Linked DNA regions of Homo sapiens: all the other regions are linked to region 1. The links are contacts of gene promoters, found by promoter capture Hi-C in blood cells and fetal thymus (Javierre and others, 2016). All regions are on one chromosome and are shown on one strand. Each heading gives the region's core, a stretch centred on a gene start or on the middle of the fragment in contact. The rest is flanking DNA. Distances are from core to core; before and after follow the strand shown.

The links. The method cuts DNA at HindIII sites, captures the fragments that hold promoters and counts their contacts. A CHiCAGO score of 5 or more calls a contact.
Region 2: a fragment that was not itself captured here is called in contact with the fragment with the promoter of CDC45 in region 1 in 1 of 17 cell types (total B cells); the score reaches 5.2 in total B cells.
Region 3: a fragment that was not itself captured here is called in contact with the fragment with the promoter of CDC45 in region 1 in 2 of 17 cell types (total B cells and naive B cells); the score reaches 6.7 in total B cells.

The regions. Positions count from the first base shown.
Region 1 is chr22:19,477,975-19,482,124 of GRCh38, reverse strand. CDC45 (cell division cycle 45) reads right to left here and starts at 2,205. Exons shown (of 19, transcript NM_003504.5): 1 at 2,106-2,205; 2 at 1,908-1,967; 3 at 1,080-1,172. The coding sequence starts at 2,156. UFD1 (ubiquitin recognition factor in ER associated degradation 1) reads left to right here and starts at 2,932. Exons shown (of 12, transcript NM_005659.7): 1 at 2,932-3,042. The coding sequence starts at 3,040. RefSeq lists silencers at 2,256-2,305, 3,096-3,165 and an enhancer at 2,396-2,695. The HindIII fragment of the contact is 12,348 bases long and covers 1-4,150 here.
Region 2 is chr22:19,247,907-19,252,056 of GRCh38, reverse strand. All of the region lies in intron 3 of CLTCL1 (clathrin heavy chain like 1), which reads left to right. LOC124900485 (small nucleolar RNA SNORA15) reads right to left here and starts at 2,217; the gene lies at 2,091-2,217. The HindIII fragment of the contact is 3,467 bases long and covers 661-4,127 here.
Region 3 is chr22:19,271,755-19,275,904 of GRCh38, reverse strand. It overlaps CLTCL1 (clathrin heavy chain like 1), which reads left to right. Exons shown (of 33, transcript NM_007098.4): 2 at 75-282. Among named protein-coding and RNA genes, the nearest start is that of CLTCL1, 18 kb to the left of the region's middle. RefSeq lists enhancers at 108-607, 608-1,109. The HindIII fragment of the contact is 4,962 bases long and covers 1-4,150 here.

The DNA.
Region 1 (4,150 bases), core at 956-3,455:
TCCCATCCCCTCTCTGTGGGGTGTACAATGTCCCATCTCTCATTTGGCCCCATGCAGAGGTGGGAGGAATCCTGGCATCTATTGTTTAAATTTATTCCTGGATTTTAAGTTGGAAACCAGGATGCATTTTCTCAGAGAAATAACATAAAATAGTAGTGTATTCTAAAATAATTTTAACTAATTCCAGCACTTTGGGAGGCTGAGGCAGGCGGATCACTTGAGGTCAGGAGTTCGAGACCAGCCTGGCCAATGTGGCGAAACCCCGTCTCTACTAGAAATACAAAAATTAGCCAGGCGTGGTGGTGGGCACTTGTAATCCCAGCTAGTTAGGAGGCTGAGGCAGGAGAATCGCTTGAACCCAGAAGGCGGAGGTTGCAGTGAGCCAAGATTGCACCATGACACTCCAGCCTGAGTGACAAAGCGAGGTTCCGTCTCAAAAATAAATAAATAAAGGCTGGGCGTGGTGGCTCATACCTGTAATCCCAGCACTTTCGGAGGTGGGCAGATCACAAAGTCAGGAGATCAAGACCATCCTGACTAACATGGTGAAACTCCGTCTCTACTAAAAATACAAAAACATTAGCCAGGTGTGGTGGCGGGTGCCTGTAGTCCCAGCTACTCAGGAGGCTGAGGCAGAAGAATGGCATGAACCCAGGAGACACAGCTTGCAGTGAGCCGAGATCGTGCCACTGCACTCCAGCCTGGGCGACACAGCGAGACTCCGTTTCAAAAAAAATAAAAAATAAAAAAATAAACCAAAATAAAATAAAATAATTTTAACTAGACCATATTAAAAACTGCTAGATTCCAAGCACCTTACAATCAAATTTCTGCAAAACAAGTTAAAACAAGTTCAAAGTTGGGGCTATCCACATTCATTATCTTTTTTTGCTGTCAATTTTGCTTCTACAACTTGGGCGTGGTAAGTCACCAGTAAATACAGCATGTTTTTCTCTTCCATATTGCCTAATGTAGCTGATACTTAAATACACGCTTAATCTATCGTGGAAATAGAATGCTGTGTCAAGAAATTACAATTGAGTAAAAAGCCACGTTATTCTAAAACGCATCTTCAATACCTGTTCTTTATGCTCAAGAAATGCAGTTTCAAGTTCTTGCCACCCAGAAACTGGAACCAGCGTATATTGCACGTGGTCACACTGGAACAAGGCCTGGAGAGAGAGTGTTTTCAAAGCCTATCTTATTTAGGACATTAGCAATTTACCTTGAAAAGAAACTGAGGAAGATTAGACGGGTTGAGAGACAAAAGACACGGGATAACATTAAAGCTAGTGAAATGCTTACGGGAAAAGCTAGGTGCTAGGGATATGAGCGTTTACCATACCATTCTGTGAATTTTGCAAATTACCAAAGTAAAACATCGGGGAGAAATGCCGATTTAACTTCCAGGCCTTCTGAAAAGTTCCTGATCCAAGGGCCTGACCAAAACAACGTAAATACTATGCCCTATTCAAAACCAAACTAACGATCTTCCCTAATAGACTAGGGGCTCCCATATTCCCAGCAACACCTGTGACACGACTATACCCACAGTTGTCACAGATTCCTCTCTCTCAAATCCCCCATTTGAGAGGCCACGACAGATCCAAAGTTTCCCCCAAATGCAACTGCTGTGTTCACCTATTAATATTAATAGCTTATTGCAAAAATACAAACTAGTCTCTTTACCTTTTACTTAATCCTTTATCCCACCCCACACCGTTGGGACAGGGAGGCAACCTCTCCTCCGAGTCTCTCTCCTCTCACTTGCTGTTCACCTCCTGCCCTGCTCCCTCTCCCACCCTAAGCCCTCAGCACCCATCCTGACACTCTGCCCGCCCTGCGCCCCCACGCAGCACCCTCACCTCGCGCGCCGGCCCCGCCCTCCTAGGGTCCGCAGAACTCACCTGAAGGATCTTGCACGCACACAGAGCATCCACGTCCGAGGCCACGAAGAGAAGGACCCTCTATCGGGGAAGAGCAGACCGGCTGAACACGGCGACCCGAACCCCGGCCCTCCCCTGCCTCCCGGTCACCCACGGTCGCTCCCCCTCATCCCTTCCCCACCGGCAAGGCCTCGGCGGGGGTCCCGGACTGGGCGTCACCTGGCTCTGGACCACCTCGTAGAACTCTTTGCGGAAATCGGACACGAACATAGCCACGGCGGCCGGACGCCTGGCGCTCGCGCTGAGGTACCAAGAGCCCGGCGGCGGTCAAGACTCCCGCCAAATCACGGCTCCTCCGATTGGTCCAGGGATCACCAACCAATAGCTTCTTAGTTCCCAGCCTTCCTTTCTTTCTGATTGGGCCACATTGGAGGCGGCCATTAGCGCTCTGCCATTCACGGCCAGAAAACTCCAGCCCGCCCCCAAAGAAGCGTCACCTCTGAGGCCGAACGCAAACACTGTTGCCCCCTTCAACTCTGACTCGCTTTTACCCAGAAAAGCGACGCTGGGCGGACATCTTTACTTTGGGAAGAGAAGCCTACTGCCTCCCACTGGGAACCCTCAGGGAAAGTATACTTCTAACCATACATTAAACTCAGTCACATACCCAATGGGGCAGCATTTACGTTTGCAATAGGTTTTTGGTGTGGTTTGAAGAAGGATTTGTAGCTTAGTTCCGCCCGAGTCCTCGATGGCTGAAGCAGAGGCAGTCTGGGTAGTGCATTGTGGGTAGTGTAGTCGTAAGGACAATGGGCCCTACTAAATTCGTCTGGAGGGGAATACTGTCAACACGTAATTTAAAATAACGTTTAAAAATACCTATAAAAGGGGAAATAAATCACGAAAGGGCATTTTAATGCTTCTACTGAGGGTGTTTTAGAGCCTAGCGTCTTCGCCTGGCCTTTTCTCTTTTGCAGCCGACGCTTTGTCCCGGGCACCCCCCCTCCGGGTCTCGGGTCCGGCACTTCCGGTGAGCCTCTGGGGCGTACCGGCTTGGCGCGGCGGCAGCGGCAGCGGCGGCTGGGAGAGCGGTCGGCGGGGTTTCTTCGTTGCATTGCCTGAGAGGAGCGGAGTCTGCCAGGTGGTGTCCATCATGGTAAGCGCTGACGGGCAGCGGGCGGGGGCTGGGCCTTGGCCCGGGGCCTGAGGTAGGGCCCGGCGGGGCAGGGCGGGGCGGGACGGCGGCGGAGGTGCCGAGTCACCCGGGCCTGAGTCCGGCCTGCAGGCTCATCGGCCGCACCGGGCACAAGCAGGACCCTTGACCACTAACCGCCTGTGGTCGCGTCCGCCGGTCCTGAACGTGGCTCGCATTCTGTCTCAGCCGGACTTGCCCTCCTTGACGAAAGAAAGGAAGGTTTGTGTCCATTCACGGGTTTCCCAAGTGCTGGACGCGCAACAGGTTTCCATAAACCCAAAGTTAGTTGCAAGGTTGCTGGGGATGGGAACAGAATCAGGGCGCTCCCCAGGGAGAATCCGTAGTGGGCATCCCCCGCTCTTGGGGGACACCCAGCTCTTGCCCCAGCTCCGTGAGCTCCGTGCCTACGGGTTCGTGCCTTCGAATCTGTACAGCGGTGTTGTGTTCGGTAATGATAACGATGGAAGCTAATACCTGCTGGTACATTTCCTGTTACACAGCTTTTAACACCTGTACTCCCTCATCGCGGCTTATTTCTTTTAATCCCTACAATCCCTTTGGAAGCAAGGATGATGATGATTTTAAACATGAGAAAACTAACGTTTACAGAGGTACTTTATTCGAGTCACAGAAGTAGGGACTGGAGAGTTGAAGCCAAGTCTGTCTGGCTGCAAAGCACTCTACGGTATTGTCTTCCTGTCACCTGTTTATTTTAGTAAAGACAAGGAATGATTGTTAGATTTTATCCCAAGTGTGTCACTGTCAAACCCTGGCTTATTTCTATTCTTGAGTTCATCCACTCAAGAATACCTGATATGTTCCAGGCAGTGTGCTAGGTCTCGGGATTGAAAAGGAAAGTGAGAGATGGGATCGGGAGCAGCAAAGAAGGGGCAGAAGGTCGGGTTCATGGGTAAACTGCAGGCAGGTTGTTAAGTATGTTGCCCCTTTGTGCGGATTTACCTTTTATATTCAAAGAGAAGAAATGGCTTACATAGGTTGGCTAGTGAGAAGCACTCAAGGGAAGCAAGCCCCTACCCTGTTCTGGCCTTGTTCACCCAGAAACGCTATT
Region 2 (4,150 bases), core at 1,145-3,644, 230 kb after region 1:
AACGCTCTGTTCCATTTCTGCAACCCCCAGAAGATATGAAGCATGTGTGACTAGATGAAGGCAGTGGCATTGCAGATATACAGGGGAGACAAGACCTAAGACTTTGGCTTACTCACCCTGATAAAGGGCATCTACAACAAATACAACTAACATCTTACTTCATGTTGAAAAACTGAAAGCTTTCCCCCAAGGATCAGAAACAAGACAAGGATGTCTTCTCTTGCTACTTCTGTTCAGCTTTGGACTAGAGATTCTAGCCAGGGCAATTAGGTGAGAAAAACATAAAAGGCATCTAGATTTAGGCTGGGCACGGTGGCTCACGCCTGTAATCCCAGCACTTTGGGAGGCCAAGGCGGGCGGATCACGAGGTCAGGAGATTGAGACCATCCTGGCTAACACGGTGAAACCCCGTCTCTACTAAAAATACAAAAAATTAGCCGGGCACGGTGGCGGGCGCCTGTAGTCCCAGCTACTCGGGAGGCTGAGGCAGGAGAATGGCATGAACCCGGGAGGCGGAGCTTGCAGTGACCGAGATAGCACCACCACAGTCCGGCCTGGGCAAAAGAGCGAGACTCCGTCTCAGAAACAAAACAAAACAAAAAGGCATCTAGATTTAAATGGAAGAATTAAAGCTGTCTCTATTTGCAGATGACATAAGCTTGTATATGGAAATCCTAAGGAATCTAGTAAAAAACTATTAGAACTAATAAACAAATTGAACAAGGTTACAGAATACAATATCAGTTTGCAAACATCAATTGTGTTCCTAAACATTTGCAACGAACAATCCAAAAATGAAATCAGGAAAGCAATCTCATTAATAATAACATCAAAAAGAATAAAATACTTAGAGGTAAATTTAATTTAAAAAGTGCAAAAGTTACATTCTGAAAACTACAAAACATGTTTGGAAGTAATTAAAGAAGATCTAAATCGAAAAATATTGCATGTTCATGGACTCGAAGATTTAATACTTTTAGGATGGAAGTACTCCTCAAATTGGTCTACAAATTCAACATAATCTCTATTGGAATACCAGCTAGCTTCTTTGTAGAAGTTGGCAAGATGATCCTAAAATTTATGTGGAATTGCAAGGAACCCAGAATAGCCAAAACAACCATAAAACAAATAAAAAGTTGGAGTACTTATACTTCCCAATTTTAAAACTTGCCACAAACCTACAGTGATCCAGAATGTGGTACTAGCTGGGCTCAGTGACTCATGCCTGTAATCCCAGCACTTTGGGAGGTTGAGGAAGGTGGATAACCTGAGCCCAGGAGTTCGAGACCAGCCTAGGCAACATGGCAAAACCCATTTTTTACAAAAAATGCAAAAACTAGCCAGGCATGATGGCATGCACCTGTAGTTCCAGCTACTCTGGAGGCTGAGGTGGGAGAATTGCTTGAGCCTGGGAGGTGGAGGTTACAGTGAACTGAGATTGCACCACTACACTCCAGCCTGGGTGACAGAGTGAGACCTTGTCTAAAAAAAAATTAAAAAAGTTAAAAAAAATAGAATGTGGTACTAACTTGAGAATAGATGACAAACAAATTAGCTTGGTGTGGTGGCATGCACCTGTAGTCCTGGCTACGTGGGAGGCTCAGGCAGGAGAATTGCTTGAGCCCAGGAGTTCAAGGTTACAGTGAGCCATGATCATGTCTTTGCATTCCAGCCTGGGCAATAGAACAAGACCCTGTCTCTAAAATTAAAAAAAAAAAAAAAAAAAGAACAGATGAGTCCCAGAAAAGTGATGTGCCCAAAAAACAGGTTTTGTTTTCCTTTCTTTTCTTTTTTTGTTTTTCTGAGACAGAGTCTCACTCTGTCACCCAGGCTGGAGTGCAGTGGCACGAACTCAGCTCACTGCAACCTCCACCTTCCAGATTCAAGTGATTCTCCTGCCTCAGCCACCCGAGTAGCTGGGACTACAGGTGTGTGCCACTATGCTCAGCTAATTTTTGCGTTTTTAGTAGAGACAGTGTTTCATCATGTTGGCCAGGCTGGTCTTGAACTCCTGACCTCAAGTGATCTGCCCACCTCGGCCTCCCAAAGTTCTGGGATTACAGGTGTGAGCCACCGCGCCCGGCCCATTTATTTGTATTCACCTTTAATAATAATATGCCACGAAAAACCTTAGCATACCATCAGTCATTCTAAAGGGAAGATTGCTTTTGCATGGTACCTGGCGATTTTTTTTTTAAGTTTCAAAATCAGCTTTGATGGTTTGTGAACAGGGTATGAAAGTTAATTTTCTGATTAAAGGGAAGGGAAACCAAATAAAAATTATCAAAACCTAGCCATACCATCAACTTAGAAATAAATTTAAATTTACTCAAGGTTATTTCTTTTTTTTTCTTTTCTTTTGAGACAGAGCCTTGCTCTGTTGTCCAGGCTGGAGTGCAATGGTGCGATCTCGGCTCACTGCAACCTCCACCTCCTGGGTTCAAGTGATTCTCCTATCTCAGCCTTCCAGGTAGCTGGGATTATAGATGTGCACCACCATGCCTGGCTAATTTTTTTTGTGTTTTTAGTAGAGACAGGGTTTCACCGTGTTGGCCAGGCTGGTCTCAAACTACTCAAGGTTATTTCTAATAAGTTATGAACATATTTCTCTGAATCAAAATAATATCAGTAGAGTGCAAATATATATTTTAAAAATTCATTAATTTTAATTTCTTAATTTTAATTTTTTTTATTTTTTGAGACAGGGTCTTGCTCTGTCGCTGAGGCTGGAGTGCAGTGGCACAATCTCGGCTCACTGCAACCTCCACCTCCCGGGTTCAAGCAATCCTCCTGCCTCAGCTTCCCGAGTAGCTGGGATTATAGGCACGTGCCACCACGCACTGCTAATTTTTGTATTTTTAGTAGAGATGGGGTTTCACCATGTTAGCCAGGATGGTCTCAAACTCCTGACCTCAAGTAATCCGCCCGCTTCGGCCTCCCAGAGTGCTGGGATTATAGGCATGATCATTTGAACTTATTCCTCCAGTCTAATCAAAGTGTTGTATCCCTTGTGGTCAATTGATTTTTGACAAGGTTGCCAAGACAGTTCAGTGAAAAAAAGAGGAGTTGTTCAATACAAGGTCTTGGGGCGCTGGACATTTATATGCAGAAGCATTAAATGGGACCTCTGTCTCATAATACTAAAAAACTCAAAATCGATCAGACCTAAATGTAAGAACTGAACCTATAAAACTCTTAGAAGGGCCAGGCACAGTGGCTCATGCCTGTAATCCCAGCACTTTGGGAGGGAGGCTGAGGCAGGCAGATCACCCTGTGGTCAGGATTTCAAGACCAGCCTGGCCAACATGGCGAAACCCCATCTCTACTAAAAATACATCATGAATGAACCTTGGAAATATTAAGCTAAGTGAAAGATGCCAGTCACAAAAGACCACATACTATATGATTCCATTTATTTGAAATGTTCAGGATAGTCTGACCTATAGACACAGAAAATAGATAAGTAGTTGCCTATGACTGGAGGTGGAGTCTGGGAGATAGGAATGAGGATTGAATGCTAATAGGGTTTCTTTCAAAGGATGAAAGTGTTCTAAAACTATGTTGTAGTGATGATTGCACAGCCCTCTGAGTATACGAAGAAACATTGGATGGTATGCTTTAAACCAGGGGTGTCTGATCTTTTGGATCCCCTGGGCCACACTGGAAGAAGAATTGTCTTGGGTCACACATAAAATACACTAGCAATAGCTGATGAGCTAAAAACAAAAATTGCAAAAAAATTCATAATTTTTTTTTTTTGAGACCGAGTTTTGCTCTTGTTGCCCAGGCTGGAGTGCAGTGGCATGGTCTTGGCTCACCGCAACCTCCGCCTCCCGGGTTCAAGCGATTCTACTGCCTCAGCCTTCCTGAATAACTGGGACTACAGGCATGCACCACCACACCTGGCTAATTTTGTATTTTTAGTAGTGATGGGGTTTCTCCATGTTGGTCAGTCTGGTCTCGAACTCCTGACCTCAGGTGATCTGCCTGCCTCGGCCTCCCAAAGTGCTGGGATTACAGGTGTGAGCCACCATGCCCAGCCAAAAGTTCATAATGCTTTAAGAAAGTTTATGAATTTGTGTTTGGGCCACATACAAGGCTATACTGGGCCACATGTTGGACAAGCTTGCTTTAAATAGATAAGTTCTAT
Region 3 (4,150 bases), core at 600-3,099, 210 kb after region 1:
CCTCTTTTGCCTTTGGCTACAGTCAGTCCATTTCAGAGGAAAAAAATTTAATCAAATGCTTTTTTTCTGTTTAGCTCCAAAACCTTGGAATTAATCCAGCTAACATTGGATTCAGCACACTGACCATGGAATCTGACAAGTTCATATGTATCCGAGAGAAAGTTGGTGAGCAGGCACAGGTCACGATCATTGACATGAGTGACCCAATGGCTCCGATCCGACGGCCTATCTCTGCAGAGAGTGCCATCATGAATCCAGCCTCTAAGGTGATAGCTCTGAAAGGTAAACCCGATGGGATTGTTAGAAAGGAATCTTACCTCATTTTAACTGCTTTGTTACCTTAAATATTGAACAAGTGTCACTAAGCTCATGGCGAAGTGCTCCTCAATAGTATTCCACTTAATTCCAAAAGTTTTAGCAAAAGTTATGTTTAGTGTGCCCTAGTAAGAGGCCCCTGAGCACCAGAGCTTCTTGGTAACATCACCCACAGCGCCAGACACACCGAGAGGAAGAAAATGCCCAGGCCTTTGTCTTCATGCGACTAGGAACGCACAACAGCACTGTGCATGTTTCCCAGGAAGGCTGTGTGGCCCCCTTGCCTGAGGGCCTGCTGCAGTGGTGCTTCCGGTCATCCGACGACACAGGCTCGGGGGTTTTCCTCCTGTGAAACACATCAATGATAGAGGAGCTGATAATTAATAGAATTTTACTTCCTTGAAATCAGGGAGTCTTGGGTGCTTAAAGCCTTCTAGTTATCTTGAAAAATATAGAATCTTCTTATATTGCCTTCATTTGGCAAATAAAAGGATTATGTATGCAGTAGACTTAATGTTTTGTGTGAAATGCAGTATCACTTACTTTGAAAAGCAAAAACTGGGCCGGGCGCAGTGACTCATGCCTGTAATCCCAGCACTTTGGGAGGCCGAGGCAGGCAGATCACCTGAGGTTGGGAGTTCGAAGACTAGCCTGACCAACATGGAGAAACCCCATCTCTATTAAAAATACAAAAAATTAGCTGGGCGTGGTGGCGCATGCCTGTAATCCCAGCTCCTCAGGAAGGCTGAGGAGAATCTCTTGAACCCAGGAGGTGGAGGTTGCGGTGAGCAGAGATCGCGCCATTGCACTCCAGCCTGGACAACAAGAGCAAAAATCGGTCTCAAAAAAAAAAAAAAAAGAAACAAAGAAAAGCAAAAACTGTTTCTGGAGGTAAAATTTGTGAATGCCAAATATTAGCTTTGCCTAGGCTTCTATTTTATTACAGAAATAGTGTCTACTTGGTCATTTCAGTAGGTAGAAGGACATCTGAAAGTTAAGACCTTTCTATTTAAAAAGAAATAACTGAAATTCTTTTATTTGAAAGGATCTTTGTTCTATTACCAACCCTACCTTTTCCCTTGTAATCTTGTCAAAGTAATTATTTGAACATATAGTGTAAGCAGTATAAATGATTTTGGTTAGAAATTATTACAATTATGGGATATTAATGATGCTTTTATCTGTCTCTTACTTTGTCACTTACCCCTTGGCTCTTTTTGATGGAATATTTGCCTTGCAGTGTCGCCCTTTTCTGCATTTTATGTTGTTGTAGTACTTAAAAAAATATTTGTAGAGAAGGGGGTCCCACCATGTTGTTCAGGCTGGTCTTGAGCTCCTGGCCTCAAGTGATCCTCCTGCCTTGGCCTCTCAAAGTGCTTGGATTATAGGCATGAGCCACTGTACCCAGCCTTGTTGTAGTACTTTTGAGAGGCCTTATTTAGCATGTTGTTTGCGGTTTTGTTTGCTGTTTAGTGTTTTCAGCAGGTCTCAGAAATGATCTGCATTTTAATCTTCCTGGTTTTCTGGTACAGTTCTCTTTAACAATGTGCAGTGCGGAGCTCCTAGGGTGTGTGTGTGTGTGTTGTGGTGTGGAGTCGGGGAGTAAAGAGAACGCAATAGTTAGATGTTGTCAATCCCTTCCAGCCAAAGACCACCAGGAACACACTTGCAGTTGAAGAAGGTGGGTTTACTGTTGCAGTGGGAGAGAACACACGCCATGGGGAACTGGGGAGTGTCTCAGTAAGAAGGTGTTAGAGCCTTTTATAGGATTTGGGCTTTGGTTGGATGATTTAGGGGGTAGTCTAAGGAAGCAGGGGTTTGCTGTAGATTGGATGTTGGCAGCAAGTGGGGGTAATTTTTATGATTGCGTATCTCAATAAATTTCATCTATTAGGGAGGGAAGACTAGAGTGAGATTAAAGCTATAATGGGTAAAGAAGTAGCAGTCACTCATTTTAGCTGAAAGAGAGGCGTGTTGGTATTTTGTGAGTTGCGCAGTAACCTTGTTTTTTCTGTGCTTGCTGTGTCTCACTTGATCGTGGTCTCAGAGGGCCCTTGCCTGAGGCTGGTGTTCTCCAAGGTGGTTTATGTCCATCAGGAGAGCAGCATGGCCTTGCTGTGATTGCCAGGCCAGCTTCCAGGTGGCAGGGGCTGCTGCTTTTTATTTTCGTTCTTAATGGTCATATAGATCACTTCAACTATAACATGTTGAGTCTTGTTTTCTTTTCCGTGGGGGAAGTGTAAGACTCTGGAACCAAAAAGGGACATAATTTTAAGGCTTTATCTTATTTTTACTGCTAATTCTGTAGCAGTAAAATCTCAGATCATTGTAGTACAAATCGTTGACAAGTGGAGGATGTACAGTGTGTTTTCAAGGCCCTACACCAAAATGAGCAAACTGTCTTTGAAGAAAGAGTTGTTTGTATAGTGATTGGTTGATGGAGATGATTGATTTGTAAGTGAGCTCCTCAGAGTCCTCTGCCATATCACACACCTTGACTAGCTTCTAGGATCCAGTGCAGAAATACAGGGTGTGTGGGGGGGTGCTGCACCTTGTATCTCACAGATTTTTCCCATTTTGGCTGGTGAAGTTTTGTGATTGGAAAGGGGCTCGTGAAGCAGCTCTCGGACCTCCCTTTACAAAAAGGGCTAGGCCAGGTGGCTCATGTCTGTAATCCCAGTGCTTTGGGAGGCCAAGGCTGGAGAATTACTTGAGCCCAGGAGTTCGAAGTTGTAGTGAGCTATTATCGTGCCACTGCATTCCAGCCTGGGTGACAGAGCAAGACCCTGTCCCTAAAAATAATATTAAATTAAATTAAGGCCGGGCGTGGTGGCTCACGCCTGTAATCCCAACACTTTGGGAGGCCGAGGCAGGCAGATCACCTGGAGGTCGGGAGTTCGAGACCAGCCTGACGAACGTGGAGTAACCTCCTCTCTACTAAAAATACAAAAATTAGCTGGGCGTGGTGGCGTGCACCTGTAATCTCAGTTACTCGGGAGGCTGAGGCGGGAGAATCACTTGAACCCAGGAGGCAGAAGTTGCAGTGAGCCAAGATCGTGCTATTGCACTCTAGCCTGGGCAACAAGAGCGAAACTCTGTCTCAAACAAACAAACAAAAAAGAGCGAAACTCTGTCTCAAAAAAAAATTAAAAGGGACACCATTGCAGCCTGTCCTCATGCCTGGCCGTGAACTCCCAAGTGCTCAGAGATACTCAGCCCACGTCATTGCCCGGCTTTCTGGAGAAGCCTGGAGCAGATTCACTTACCCAGTACCCAGTCTCTGTTCATACTTTCTTTGCTGACGGATTTGTGGTGAATTCTTTAAAACCAGATACATTTTGCCTTTGACTTAAAGAGCATGAAGTGGTGGCAGAATTACTCATCTGTTGCTTGTGATTTTAGTGGAACACCTTAACTGAGGGATTGGCAAACGGTCTGCTTTTTGCTCCTGAACTAGGAATGTTTTTTATTTGTTTGTTTTAAGATCAGGTCTCTCTCTGTCATCCAGGCAGGAATGCAGTGATGTGATCATGGCTCACTGTAGCCTTGAACTCCTGGGCTCAAACGATCCTCCTGCGTCAGCCTCTGAAGTAGCTAGGACTACAGGCACATGCCACCATGCCCAGCTAATGTTTAAACATTTTTTGTAGAGATGGTATCTGACTATGTTGCCCAGGCTGATCTCAAACTCCTGGCCTAAAATGATCCTCTCACCTCAGCCTTCCAAAGTCCTGAGACTACTGATGTGAGCCACCTCAATTGGCCAAGAATGGTTTTTATGAGGAGTTGTAAAAACAAAACAAAACAAAACAGACAGAGGTCTTTTATGTCCTTT